Regions from separate parts of the Homo sapiens genome. Here regions 1, 2, 3 and 5 are each linked to region 4. Evidence: promoter capture Hi-C in human tissues and cell types (Jung and others, 2019). All regions are on one chromosome and are shown on one strand. The core of a region is centred on a gene start or on the middle of the fragment in contact, and the rest is flanking DNA. Distances in the headings are between cores, read along the strand shown.

The links. The method cuts DNA at HindIII sites, captures the fragments that hold promoters and counts their contacts. A contact is called where the count stands out against the background at its distance.
Region 1: a fragment that was not itself captured here is called in contact with the fragment with the promoter of DALRD3 in region 4 in 1 of the 25 tissues and cell types used here (pancreas).
Region 2: the fragment with the promoter of BSN here is called in contact with the fragment with the promoter of DALRD3 in region 4 in 1 of the 25 tissues and cell types used here (dorsolateral prefrontal cortex).
Region 3: a fragment that was not itself captured here is called in contact with the fragment with the promoter of DALRD3 in region 4 in 1 of the 25 tissues and cell types used here (spleen).
Region 5: a contact is called between the fragment with the promoter of MST1 here and the fragment with the promoter of DALRD3 in region 4, in 1 of the 25 tissues and cell types used here (heart right ventricle).

The regions. Positions count from the first base shown.
Region 1 is chr3:49,767,216-49,769,915 of GRCh38, reverse strand. All of the region lies in intron 1 of IP6K1 (inositol hexakisphosphate kinase 1), which reads left to right. Among named protein-coding and RNA genes, the nearest start is that of IP6K1, 18 kb to the left of the region's middle. The HindIII fragment of the contact is 9,567 bases long and covers 1-2,700 here.
Region 2 is chr3:49,553,095-49,555,794 of GRCh38, reverse strand. BSN (bassoon presynaptic cytomatrix protein) reads right to left here and starts at 1,318. Exons shown (of 12, transcript NM_003458.4): 1 at 969-1,318. The coding sequence starts at 1,192. It overlaps BSN-DT (BSN divergent transcript), which reads left to right and starts at 1,429. Exons shown (of 3, transcript NR_038866.1): 1 at 1,429-1,754; 2 at 2,108-2,247. RefSeq lists silencers at 931-1,140, 1,211-1,510. The HindIII fragment of the contact is 7,009 bases long and covers 1-2,700 here.
Region 3 is chr3:49,730,403-49,733,178 of GRCh38, reverse strand. IP6K1 (inositol hexakisphosphate kinase 1) reads left to right here. Exons shown (of 6, transcript NM_153273.4): 4 at 207-388. Among named protein-coding and RNA genes, the nearest start is that of GMPPB, 7.8 kb to the right of the region's middle. The HindIII fragment of the contact is 4,827 bases long and covers 1-2,776 here.
Region 4 is chr3:49,017,278-49,020,188 of GRCh38, reverse strand. It overlaps DALRD3 (DALR anticodon binding domain containing 3), which reads left to right and starts at 1,609. Exons shown (of 12, transcript NM_001009996.3): 1 at 1,609-1,789; 2 at 1,871-2,166; 3 at 2,320-2,576; 4 at 2,676-2,755; 5 at 2,833-2,911. The coding sequence starts at 1,625. MIR425 (microRNA 425) reads left to right here; the gene lies at 1-41. RefSeq lists a silencer at 2,379-2,613 and an enhancer at 2,062-2,833. The HindIII fragment of the contact is 18,150 bases long and covers 1-2,911 here.
Region 5 is chr3:49,688,061-49,690,760 of GRCh38, reverse strand. MST1 (macrophage stimulating 1) reads left to right here and starts at 1,287. Exons shown (of 18, transcript NM_020998.4): 1 at 1,287-2,163. The coding sequence starts at 2,070. RNF123 (ring finger protein 123) reads right to left here and starts at 1,204. Exons shown (of 39, transcript NM_022064.5): 1 at 1,155-1,204. RefSeq lists an enhancer at 1,374-1,933. The HindIII fragment of the contact is 11,098 bases long and covers 1-2,700 here.

The DNA.
Region 1 (2,700 bases), core at 81-2,580, 750 kb before region 4:
AAGATGACTTATTCATAAAGCTCTTTGCAGGAAGCCTCAGTTCCATATTGTTTATCTCTACCCAGGGCTTTTGTTTGTTTGTTTTTAAATTTTCCCTACTTTAAAGCTAACAAGTTATACACAGGGCTCTTTGAGTTTCCTCATGGCGTGCAGTTATCTCCTACAGAAATGATCTAAGACAAAGTAAGGAAGAAACCATGAAGCCTCTTATGACCTAGTCATACACTGTCACTTCTGCCATATTCTTTTCATTAGAATGAGTCCCTAAGTCTAGCCTGTACTCAAGGAGAGAGGAGGATTTCACTTTTTAGAGGGAAGAATGTAAAAAAATTTGACATAGTTTAAAACTACCAAAATTTTCTCTCCCCATTGGTTTGCTTTGGTACTTTTGTCGAAAAACAATTGACTGTTATATCCTGATTTGTCGCTGGCAAAAATCCCAAAAACAATTGACTCTGTAGATATGGGCCTGTTTGTGAAATCTGTGTTCTGTTCCATTGATCTATTTGTTTATCCATATGCCAGTACCCCACTACTGTAGCTTTATAGGAAGTCTTGACATGAGGCAGTGTAAATAACCCAACTTTATTGTTTATCAAGATTTATTTGAATATTACAGTTTCTTTTTATTACCATATAAATTTTAGAATTAGCTTGTCAATTTCTGTAAAAAAGTCTCCTGCCATTATGGTTGAGATTCCACTGAATTTATAGATTCATTTGGGGAGAATTGACATCTTAACTATATTGAGCCTTCTAATCCATGTGCTGTGTGAGGCATATTTCTTGATTTATGCCTTCTTTACTATCTTGCTACATTATTTCATTGTTTTTAATGTAGAATTCTTTCACGTTTTGTTAAATTTGACCCAAGACATTTGATTTTTTTGATGCTATTGTAAATGAAATTTTTAAATTGTAGTAAATATACATGAGAAAATGTAGAATTTTAACTATTTTGAAGGGTATGATGCAGTGGCATTAAATACATTCACAATGATGTTTTGAGAACTACTTTCATCATCCCAAATAGGAACTCTCCCCATTATATAGTAACACCCCATTCTCACCTCCCCCAGCCCCTTGTACGTTCTTAATAATCTTTTTGTCTCAATGAATTCGCCTATTTTATTTTATTTTATTTTTGAGACTCAGTCTCACTCTGTCACCGAGGCTGGAGTGCAGTGGCCCAGTCTTGGCTCACTGCAGCCTCCGCCTCCCAGGTTTAAGTGATTCTCCTGCCTCAGCCTCTCAAGTAGCTGGGATTACAGGTGCCCGCCACCACGGCCGGCTAATTTTTGTATTTTTGGTAAAGATGGGGTTTCACCATGTTGGCCAGGTTGATCTCGAACTCCTGACCTCAAGTGATCCACCTGCCTCAGCCTCCCAAAATGCTGGAATTACAGGCTTAAGCAACTGTGCCCAGCCCTGTTTTATTTTATGTAAGTGGAATTATAATTATATAATTTTTTCCCTTTTGTGCCTGGCTTATTTCACTTAGCAAAATGTTTTCAAGATTCATCCATGTTGTGACATGCATCAGAATTTCATTCCTTTTTAAGGCTGAATAATATTTCACTGTATGTATATACCGCATATCTTTATCCATTTATCTGTTGATGGACATGGGTCGTAGACACCATTTGGTTATTGTGAATAATGCTGTGAACATTGGTGTATAAATATCTGTTTTGGATTCCTCCTTTCAGTTCTTTTGGGTATAGACCTAAAAGTGGAATTGTTGAATCATATGGTAATTCTATGTTTAACTTTTTGAGGAATTGCCATACTGTCTTCTTTACATTCTCACCAGCAGTGCACAAGTGTTACAATTTCTTCATATCCTTGCCAACACTTATTTTCTATTTTTTTTTTTTTTTTATAACTTGGATGTGAAGTAGTTTCTCATTGTGGCTTTGATTTGCATTTCCCTAATGACTAATGAAGTTGAGCATCTTTTTGCATATTTTTTGGCCATTTGTAAATCTTCAGAGAAATGTCTAAGGCCTTTGCCCATTTATGAATTGGGTTATTTTTGTTGTTGTCGAGTTATACAAGTACTTTATATGTTCCATGTATTAATCCTTTATCAGATGTATGATCTGCAGATATTTTCTGCTATTCTGTGGGTGATGTTTTCACTCTTTTTAAATTAATTAATCGGTTTTTTAGAATAGAGATGGGATCTCACTATATTGCTCAGGGTGGTCTCAAACTCTTGGGCTTAAGTGATCCACCTGCATCAGCCTCCCAAAGTGTTGAGATTACAGGTATGAGCCACTGTACCCAGACTAATTTTATTTTTTTAAGTTGTTGTTATTATTATTATTATTTTTTGAGATGGAGTCTCACTCTGTCACCTAGCCTGGAGTGCAGTGGCGTGATCTCTGCTCACCACAGTTTCCGCCTCCCGGTTCAAGTGATTCTCCTGTTTTAGCCCCCCGAGTACCTGGGATTACAGGCACGTGCCACCACAACTGGCTACTTTTTTGTATTTTTAGTAGAGATGGGGTTTCACCATGTTAGCCAGGCTTGTCTTGAACCCCTGACCTCAGGTGATCTGCCCACCTCGGCCTCCCAAAGTGTTGGGATTACAGGCGTGAGCCACCGCGCCTGGCCAATTATTATTATTTTTTAAGAGATAGGGTCTCATCCTGTCACCCAGGCTGGAATGAGTGATATGAATGTAGCTCACTGCAG
Region 2 (2,700 bases), core at 69-2,568, 540 kb before region 4:
CCACCCCCTGGGGGTTTTGCTACTCCCCAAGCCTATTTGGTGCAAAGATAATGCCTTCCATTTTATCGTGTCATCTCTTAGTAGTTTTCCTGAGTTTTCAGTCTACTGACTTATTATATATTGGCATTCCCTTACAGCCTTCATTGCCACTTGACTGTTTTTGCAGGACCTGGGTTGGCATACATTTAAAACAAACTGGTTTCACAGTATTTAATCAGATATGTTCTGTTTAAAGCATTCTGTGTGGGTTTCAGCTTTTCCACTGGTTTGATCTAAATCATAAGGTAACGAGAACATATCTGGTGCTGGATGACTCAATAGCATTTTTGCTTCACCCCAAAATGTTTCCCTAAACCTTGGTGAAAGCACATGATCCTATTAGTATTGTTGGGCCTAAATAAGCACCTCTTGGTGTCCAGTGGGCAATTTTCCTTTCCCCCAAAGGTGATTACAGCCACTAAATGCCCAAGGAAAGCCCAAGACCAAGTTCATGGTTCAACTATTTTCATCTCTCTGTTCCTCGCAGTGACACTTATCTTCCCTGACAGCCACTCCCATTGTGCTGTTTTCTCGGCCCAGCACAATGGACACATGCAGACACCAGCAGACAGGGAGGACGTTTTCCATCCCATTGCTCTCCTGTGCGGAGGGACCAGGTTAAGGTTACATAAGCCCCTCCTGAGCAGTCAGGCCCGAGCGTTGGGGAGAAGCGAATTTGGGGTTCGTGACGGAGTCACGGTCTGCAGGCCCCGACTGACCCTGCGCTCGTCATCCTGCCACGCCAAGGCGGGGCAGCTGGAAAGGAAGGGCCGCTTCCCGCGACCACCCAGTTCACGCCAATCCGGCAGGGTTCAGAGTGCGGCCGGACGTCGAACCTCGCTGTCCACACTAGATCGCGGGATCCTGGGCCCGGGTCCCGGCCTCAGGCTGCAGCTCACCGCCCCCCGGGCGCCGAGACACGCGCTTACCTGCCCGGGCCAGGGCCGGGACCGGGGCCGGGGCCGGGGCCAGGGACCGGTGGTACCGCGGTCGACCGCGCTGCTCCCGCCGCGGGGAGCTGTCCGCCACCGGCCGGTGCTGAAGGCGGCTTTCCTGCGCCGGGGCCGGGGCCGGGGCCCGGGCCGGGGCCGGCGCCGCCGGGCGGCAGCGGCCCGTCGCCAGCGCCGCCCTCCAGGCTGACCTCGTTGCCCATGGCGGGCAGGCGGGCGGGCGGGGTCGGGGTCGCGCTGCGCCCGGGCCGGCGGCTCCCGGGCGGTGCTCACACTCTCGGCGCCGCCGCTGCCGCCGCCATCTCCCAGCTCGGCTCGCGCCGCCGCCTGCCGCTGCGCATGCGCGTCTCGCGCCCCCTTCCCTGCACACGCCCCCCTTCCCCTGTGCGCGCTCCCGCCAGCCTCGGGGTCGCTGGGAAACAGCCGCCGGCGCCCGCGCATGCGCTGTCCAGGGCCGACGCGGTTGTATCATGCTGAGAAGGAGCCGGGCGGGGGCCGGCGGGGCTGCGAGGGCCCTGTGAGGAGGGGCACCTGCCACTAGAAGCGGCCTCTGGGACGTCGCGCTGAGCCCTGCTTTGGAGTCAGAGGGGCTTTCCGCCTCGGTGAACTCGAGAGTAGCAACTCTCCTCCGGGTAACCGGAGTGCCACAGCGGGCAGGCGTCATAAGGACAGGCCTCGGAGAGGAGAGGGGCTACCCGAGAATGGCCTCAAAAGTATGCATAGGAGTTGGGAAGGCAGAGGAACAAGTGTATTCAGAGACGCAAGGTCGTAGAGGGAAGGAGAGGGAGGGTGCTGGGTGGTCGGGCCGGATTGTGAGGGTCTTTAAGGCCAGCTGGGGAGTGGAGCCTTTATCCAGATGGCGATGGGAACCATCTGGGATTCACACTGAGGAACTGGGAGTCTCAGGAAGCGCCCCGGGCACAGATGGAAGGTGTGACAGGGCTGTGTGAAGCCAGCTGGGAGGCCACCTCAGTCAGCCCTGGGAGAGTGACCTTGGGGATGGAAAAGAGGACTTGATGGTTCTCAGGCCTGGAGCTGTCTCGATGCGGGGCCGCAGGTTGCCTCTGCATTACCCTGAGAGCTTTCCAAATTACTTCCCCGCTCCCTCACATTTACAGCCGGTTTCTGCCCGCTACTCAGGATTGTCTGCCGTGGTGGCTTCTCACACAAGCCTGTACTTTCCTGTGGGAGAATATTTCCTAGGAGCCTATATTCCAGTTCATCTCTGACGTCATAAATCATGACTGTGTAGAAAGGCGTGAGTAACTTGAACCCATTTTACAAACCCATTCAATTCTCCTAATGTTGCGAAATATATCACATAGGGTGTTAGCAGTTCTAACTGAACCTAGAATAATCCAGGGATCCCAGTGAATGCTGATAGCCAGCCTGCTGGACAGACCGGTGGCTGTGTCAGTTCTTGTGAGGAGGGGCCAGGACCCTCCCTGGGCCTTCCCCTGTGCACTCCGAGCTGCTCCTCCCGACCTCTGGGATGGAGCAAGTAAGAGAAAGAGGAAATGCAGAGCCCCCACTTCCTGATATTTTCTCCTGACTTCATACCTCCCGTTTTCACGCTAAACTGCCTGGCCCCTCTGGGATGACCTAGGATGAAGAGAGCCTCTCTTCCTGCAGATGATGGTCCTTGCTGTGTTTCCTCCTGTGCTGCAGGATGTTTGATACAGCTTCGTGAGTGGTGACTACATGTGCACAT
Region 3 (2,776 bases), core at 152-2,651, 710 kb before region 4:
TAAGAGACATAAGATAGTTTTAAGAGACACAGGAAGAACACTACTCATAACATTTACTCATTTTTATTGGCTCATGGGACCTTAATGCAACCCATTAGCAGGGTCTGTGGGTCTGTCATTGTGGACAGATCTGTGCCCTGTGCAGCGGGACCCCAGAGGATGACTTGCCTGAGTTTCTTAGTGATGTGTATGTTCTTCCTTCTTAGCTCACAGGAGGCAAAGAGTCCGAAGGTGGAGCTGCACAGCCACTCAGAGGTCCCTTTCCAGATGCTAGATGGCAACAGTGGCTTGAGTTCTGAGAAGATCAGCCACAACCCCTGGAGCCTGCGTTGTCACAAGCAGCAGCTGAGCCGCATGCGCTCCGAGTCCAAGGACCGAAAGCTCTACAGTATCCTCGTTGCCCCTCCTTCAGGAGTGTCTACTGGGTCCATAGGTCGTGTGTTGGGGCACCATTCTGCCTATGGCTGAGGTCTTTGTCTAGGGTCCCTCTTCGGTTTAATCTCCCTTTTTCATGGACTCCTCTTCCTTCGTTTACTTTCATCAACATGTTTTTTTCCTGCCTTTTGGATTTGGTAAGGCCGAAGCTTAAAACTTGGCAGTCTAGAACAGTGTTGTCTGATAGAACTGTCTGTAATTCTGTGTGCTTTTCAGTATGGTAGCCACTGGCCACACTGAGTGGCTAAAATGTGGCTACTGTGACTAAGGCAGTTAATTTAAATTTTATTTTATTAATTAAAATTTAAATCATCACATGTGGCTAGTGTGGCTAGTGGTACTATATTGATCATGTCCACAATCACAGATCTGCGTATGTGCCCATATGCGCTTGTGTGCATGTGTGTAGTTTTCCCCTCCCAAGGGATTAATAGTTTAAAGGTGATATATTTGACTTTGGTGAGATTTTTATCTGATGATAAACACCATAAAATAGATTTAAAATGTTAAAGATAGCTGGGCGTGGTGGGTCACACCTGTAATCCCAGCACTTTGGGAGGCTGAGGCAGGAGGATCACTTGAGACCAGGTGTTTGAAACCAGCCTGAGCAACATAGTGAGACTTCATCTCTACAAAAAATAAAAAAATTAGTTGGATGTGGTGGTGTGTGCTTGTAGTAGTCCCAGCTCTGAGGTGGGAGGATTGCTTGAGCCCAGGAAGTCGAGACTGCAGTGGGCCATGATTGCACCACTACATTCTAGCTTCTAGCCTGGGCAACACAGCAAGACCCTGTCTCATCTCCAGAAAAGATAAAAAAGTATTATGGCATAGGAATTCCTTTTTTTTTTTTTTTTTTGAGACAGAGTCTCACTCTGTTACCCAGGCCAAAGTGCAGCGGTGCGATCTCGGCTCACTGCAACCTCCGCCTCCCGGGTTCAAGAGATTTTCATGCCTTAGCCACCCCAGTAGCTGGGATTACAGGCGTGCGCCACCACGCCCAGCCTAGAATGGGAATTCTTACAATTGTTAGTGTTTTGAAGTAGTAGACAAATAACAACTGGATTATTCTAAGAAACTGAGGGAAAGTGTGCTGAACCTTTTGTACGTAGTTAATTTTCACAGCAATCTTTTGAGGAAGGAACTCTCATCATTCCCATGTTATAGATGAGGAAGTGGAAGCACAGGGGGATTAAGTGTTGTGCCTAGAGGTAGTGAGTGGTCAAGGCAGGATTCCAGAGCCCATGCTTCCAGGGTGTTGAGATATTTCTGCAGCCTCCTCCATATTTTACCATCACATGTTTATAGGTAATAGCAGGCAACAGAATTGATTCAGGCCAAATTTAAAAGTTACTTTCAAAAGAATGAAATGTTCATCATCACAGTGATGCTGAGTGTCTATCTGCTAAGATGCGATTGCTCTGTAGCACCCAGAGATGGATTTGAGGGCTGGGCTGTGAAACCCAGTGACTTTGGCAGACATATGATAAGTCTGTACCTTTACACAAAAGTTCAAAGATAAGATTGTTGCAAATAGGATATATTGGAATGAAGACATGTATGTAAATGCCAGGGAGTTAGGACCATAGATCGTTTTGAGCAGAAGGTTATAGAACTATTAAGGGATAAATTTATATTTTATATATAAATATATTTATATATATAAATTTGAAACCAGTGAACGAGATCTCTCTCTCTCATTCACTGGTTTCAAATTGAGTGACAAATGGCAAGACAGAAATATAAATCCAGGCTCATTCCTGTAATCCCAGCACTTTGGGAGGCCGAGGCCGGCAGATCACCTGAGGTTGGGAGTTTGAGACCAGCCTGACCAACATGGAGAAACCCCGTCTGTACACAAAATTAGCCAGGTGTAGTGGTGCATGCCTGTAATCCTAGCTGCTCGGGAGGCTGAGACAGGAGAATCATTTGAACTCAAGAGGCGGAGGTTGCGATGAGCCAAGATTGCGCCATTGCACTCCAGCCTAGGCAACAAGAGTGAAACTCCATCTCAAAAAAAAAAATACAAAAAATTAGTCGGGCATGGTGGCATGCGCCTATAGTTCCAGCTACTTGGGAGGCTAAGGCAGGAGGATCACTTGAACCTGGGAGGCAGAGGTTGCAGTGAGCTGAAATTGTGCTACTGCACTCCAGCCTGGGCAAAGGAGCAAGACTGCATCCTAAAAAAAAAGAAAAGAAATGTAAATCCAGCTTTTTCTAAAGATTCCTATTTGGGAATGTTAGAATCTGGTTTCCTTGTTTTTGTAGTAGTGCTACCAAGATGTCTTCCTTATTTCTTAGGCCTGGGCAAGGTGCTGGCTTGAGTAGGGCCTTGGTTCACTGA
Region 4 (2,911 bases), core at 360-2,859:
GAGAAGCCATCGGGAATGTCGTGTCCGCCCAGTGCTCTTTCGGCGCCTCCCAGCAGGGCCTCAGCCCTGGCCCAGAAAGGGGCCTTGCCAAGCTTTTCCTGCCCCTGGGTTTCCCTGCTCTCCGGATTTCCCAACTCTCTCTACTGAGTTAGCTTCTCTATTAAAAGGAATGGGGGTGGGGTGGGGGGTGAGTAAGTTACAGTGAAATGAAGACATTTGGGAACCTTTGTGGGAGAAAGAAAAAGACCTTTCCTATTGGTAGAGGAGCAAGATACTCCAACTGAGGCCTATTTTCTATTATGGTCGCATTATTTGGTTGGCCCGTAAATGGCTGTTGCCTAAAACAGGAAGCTTTAAGGATCGTTGTTAAAGCACACCAGGTTAAAGGAGTCACATTAAAAGCTGGTCATTCTGAGCCGGGCGCGGTGGCTCACGCCTGTAATCCCAGCACTTTGGGAGGCCGAGGCAGGCGGATCACCTGAGGTCGGGAGTTCGAGGCTTGACAAACATGGAGAAACCCCGTCTCTATTAAAAATACAAAAGTAGCCGGGCGTGGTGGCGCGTGCCTGTAATCCCAGCTACTTGGGAGACTGAGGCAGGATAATCACTTGAACCCGGGAGGGGGAGGTTGCGGTGAGCCAAGATCACACCACTGTACTCCAGCCTGGGCAACAGGAGCGAAACTCCGTCTCAAAAAAAAAAAAAAAAAGTCTGGTAATTCTGGAAGCCATCATGATGGTTGTGATTTCTCAGGTATCAAGAGAAGAAAACCGCCAACTGTATCAGAGTGCTTATTTATTGGGCATAAAGACCACCCGGGCTGGGTGCAGTGGCTGATGCCTGTAATCCCAGCACTTTCGGAGGCCGAGGCGGGCAGGTCACGAGGTCAGGAGTTCGAGACCAGCCTGGCCAACATGGCGAAACCCCGTCTCTACTAAAAATACAAAAATTAGCCGGGCGTGGTGGCGGGCGCCCGTAATCCCAGCTACTCGGGAGGCTGAGGAGGAGAATCCTGTGAATCCGGGAGGTGGAGGCTGCAGTGAGCCGAGATCGTGCCACTGCACTCCAGCCTGGGAGACAAGAGCAAGACTCCGTCTCAAACAAACAAAAAAACACCCATATCTCAAACGAGAAAATGCTTGCAAATAACCTGAAACCGCGGAACACTATTCTTTTTAAAACGAGATATTTTAAGTAGGTCGTGAAAGTGGCCTTAATGTTATACTGCCTTATTCCAGTGACGAATATTCATCATGTGTAAAATGGGAGAAATGAAATGTTATTAAAACAAACATGTGAGACTTCGATGAGAAGAGACGGTACCCGGTCTAAGCGCCCACCGGGTCGCGAGGATCCTTTTCCTGGTTAAGGCCTGGGTCACAGCGAAAGAACCCTAGGCCCAGGGAGGGCCCCGAGATTTCAGATCCGGGGCCCGGCTGTGCAGGTGGACCACGCGGAAGGGGCGCTGGGGGCGGTAGGTCGAAAGCAGCCGACAGGGCTACCACTGGCGCACCTGTCCACTTACGGGGACCACCGCCGCATCCCCGCCCCAGCTAGTCGGTCCTTTCCGGAAGTTCCACCTCCCTAAATTTTTTTCCGGTTCCGCTTACTCCTTCCGGTCACCATGGCGACCAGGCGCCTTGGGGTCGGGGAGACGCTGGGGGCCCTCAACGCGGCCCTGGGGCCAGGCGGTCCGGTGTGGATCAAGGAGACGCGCACCCGCCACCTGCGTTCCCGAGACTTTCTGGCACCGCACCGCGCGCTGCAGGCGCGCTTCGATGACGGCCAGGTGGGCGTGAGCCGGGCGGGGCCGTGCGGCCGGGAGATGGGCCCCGTGCCGTGGCTCTTTTACACGCCCGTTCTCCCGCAGGTTCCGGAGCATTTGCTCCATGCCCTCGCCTGCCTGCAGGGCCCCGGTGTGGCCCCGGTGCTGCGCTGCGCGCCGACCCCCGCGGGTCTGTCTCTCCAACTGCAGCGGTCCGCCGTCTTCGAGCGCGTCCTCAGCGCCGTGGCCGCCTATGCCACGCCCGCCTCGCCTGCCTCGCTGGGCCAGCGCGTCTTACTACACTGCCCAGCACTGCGCAGCTCCCCCTGCGCACTCCGCTTGAGCCAGCTGCGTACGGTGCTCGTGGCCGATCACCTGGCGCGAGCCCTGCGCGCTCACGGGTGAGCGGGGCCGCGGGGCCGGAATGGAGAAAGTGGGACTGCCGGGTACCTAGAAAGCGAGCGGCGCCGCCCGTGGGGACTGCGGCTGGAGGTGGGAAGTCGTGGCGAGCTGGACCAGGTGCTCAGACTGAGGCGGCCGCCCTCCCTTCGCAGGGTGTGCGTGCGCCTAGTGCCAGCTGTGCGGGATCCGCACATGCTGACCTTCCTGCAGCAACTGCGGGTGGACTGGCCCGCTGCCTCGGAGAGAGCTTCCTCCCACACCCTGAGGAGCCACGCCCTTGAAGAACTTACCTCTGCTAATGACGGGAGGACACTGTCCCCTGGCATCCTAGGCAGACTGTGTCTGAAGGAGCTGGTGGAAGAACAGGGCCGCACAGCTGGCTATGACCCCAACCTGGACAACTGTCTGGGTAGGACCTGAAGCCTAGCAGGGCCAGAAAAGGCAGGAGGGGGTTAGGGGCACATCTCTGCTTCTTGTCAGTCTCAGCACCTGTCTGTTCTCTTTTCAGTGACTGAGGATCTCCTCTCTGTGCTGGCTGAGCTGCAAGAGGCTCTATGGCATTGGCCCGAGGACAGCCACCCAGGCCTGGTTAGTGACTCCCAGCCCTGTAGGTTCTCCCAAACCAAGTATACTGTACTTCCACAGTTATGATTGTCCTCCCTTAGGCTGGGGCCTCAGATACTGGTACAGGCGGCTGCCTGGTTGTACATGTTGTTAGCTGTGAGGAGGAGTTCCAGCAACAGA
Region 5 (2,700 bases), core at 38-2,537, 670 kb before region 4:
AGCCATACTGAGTCCAGCTCACAACCAGAAGCGACAATCCTACACATTCCCCCAAGTGCAGACCACCACTGGTCTGGTCATCTCTAGCCATAAGTCCCACTTACTCCCCACAAGGCTGGAGCCTCTTTCCTCAGCCCTGGGTTCCTCCCTTCTTTTATCCATGGTCCTGATAGTTTCACCATTCCCACTCACACATGTGGCCTCCCACCTCATCCAAGCACCACCCTTGCCCAGCCCTCATGGCAAACTCCATTGGTCCTCCTAGTGCATCTATCCCTCACATCATGTTGCTGCTGCAGCTGCTCCAGAACCTGCACTGAGTCCCTGGTGCTGGCCTCACTGATGTGTAGCGGTGCTGTCCAACACAGCAGCCGTCATCCACATGAGGTTACTTAAATTTAAAGTTTTAAAAATTAACAATTCGATTTCTCAGTTGCCTTAGCCACATTTCAAGAGTTCAATGACCACATGTGGCTAATGGTTACTCTGTTGGACAGCACAAAGGTAGAACGTTCCCACCATCATATAAAGTTCTATTAGACAGCGCAGGTCTAGAGTTTCGCTCTGCAGCACTGCCTTAGCCAGCACTCCCTACTCTGCAGTTCAGTCTCTTATCTCACCCCAAACAGACCCTCTACTCCCGCCACAAACCCTTGTGGGTCTGCACCACGCCTGCTCCTCGGGAAGGTGATTTTCCCGACCTCGGGCCCTCGGTGGGCGTCCATGATCGGTGCCCCTTCACTACCAGAGTAGTTGAAGATCTGATTAAACTCAGTCATTCATTTGATGAGCAGACCTTCCAGACACCCGGAGTGGGCTCCGGGAGTCAGTTGCTGAGGACCCAGGTGAGAGGCGGACCTTGTCCCCGCCCGGGGACTCCCTGTCACGGCTATCCCGTCCAACCCCGCCGGGGTATCCGGACTCAGAACTGAACCTACTCCGTCTGGGAGCCCAAGGACGGCGAGGGCGGCGCATGGCTCCCCCAAGTCGCCCCCGCCTGGCCCCAAGCTCCACAGGACCTGCCAGACCAGCTTCCGCTCGGAGTTTCGCACCCAGATCCCTGCGCTGCAGGTGCCCTCGCACTGGACTAGCCCGGACCGCGAAGGGAATAGCCGGAACCCGCCAGGCTCAGAGCCCTGCCGCCCCTCACTCACCCGGAGCCTCGGCCGCAGCGACCCGGCTCACAACATCCGCCCAACCTCTTGGCTACGGCGTCCGTTCAGGGCCAAATCACGCGCACGCTTGCGCGCTGAGCCTCCAGCCGCGCACGCGCACTGGCCCGCGCCCAGCCTCCGCTAGGGGACCCCCTCCATGGCTTCCCACCGGGTTGTTCCAGGCCTCAGCTTCGCCGAAAGGCCTCACCACCTCCGACCTCCGCCTGCTCTGGGGATGCTCCCAGCCCTGCTGCGGCAGAACGCGACATGCTAACCGGAATCCCTAGGCCGCCTGTCTCCTACCCATACTTAGAGGCCCCGCTCAGACGGTCCTTAAAACGTCTGAAAGGCCGTTCCTGCCAGAGTCCCTGCTACCTGTTACCTCCACCCCTATTTAGTCCTAGTGGACAGCCTCGCTCACCTTCCCTGGGATGACACTTCTGGCGGCTGAGATGAGCGAGCCTCTCTGGGCTCTGCCGCCGGGTGTGGGCTGACCTGCCTACAGCTGGGGCCTGATAAGGCAGCAGCAAAAGGGTGGAGGGGAGGCAGTGTTGAAGCTGGGGCAAGTAATTTTCCCCAATTTACAGGGAAAAACCGAAATTCAGAAAAGTTTAATGTCACCCAGGGGCTGGAGCCCAGACCTCTGGCAGCTCTCACTTTCACAATGCCCTTGGGCTGACTAGGCTGCAGAGGGGTTTCACCCCAACCCCAGGGCACCTCAAGTGTCCCCACCAAACCTTCCTAACACCTGTCCACTAAGCTGTACTAGGCCCTTGCAACTGACCTATGGGACCTGAGGCCTGGCCCCTCATGGCTCCTGTCACCAGGTCTCAGGTCAGGGTCCAGCAGGCCCTGAGCTGACGTGTGGAGCCAGAGCCACCCAATCCCGTAGGGACAGGTTTCACAACTTCCCGGATGGGGCTGTGGTGGGTCACAGTGCAGCCTCCAGCCAGAAGGATGGGGTGGCTCCCACTCCTGCTGCTTCTGACTCAATGCTTAGGGGTCCCTGGTAAGTGCCCCCAACCCTGATCCCCATCTGCCTTCAGGAGGGGGTTGGCCCCATTCTCCTATTCTAGGATGAGAAAAAAGTCGGGGAGCCAGAGGCTCAGTGGGCATGGGGCAGTGACCTTGCCCTCTTGAGCACAGCTGGGAAGCCCTAGGAACACATAGACATTGCCCACTTAGGCCTCTATTAGCACGTCTGCTCTAGCACTGAAGCAGTGTCAGGACCACACAGATGCACGCACACAGCAGGCAGTGACCCCTCCTGAGCCTGATCTACCCCTCTAACCTAGCATATGCCTTTGTGCAGGTGAGAGCCCAGATTTGGAGTCTGAATGCCTAGCCAGGGCCCCTGGCTGGGTAATGTGATGGCTCTGAGCCTTAGCATTCTCATTTGAGAGATGAGGTGGGGCAAGCTTCATCACCCACTGCTCTCACAGAGCGTATGTGTTAGATCTGAGCCCGGTGCCTGGGCCACTAAACAGAGGCACCGGTGATAACTACCAAGTCTGGGCCTGCTTCCCAGGGGAAATTTTTTTCACAA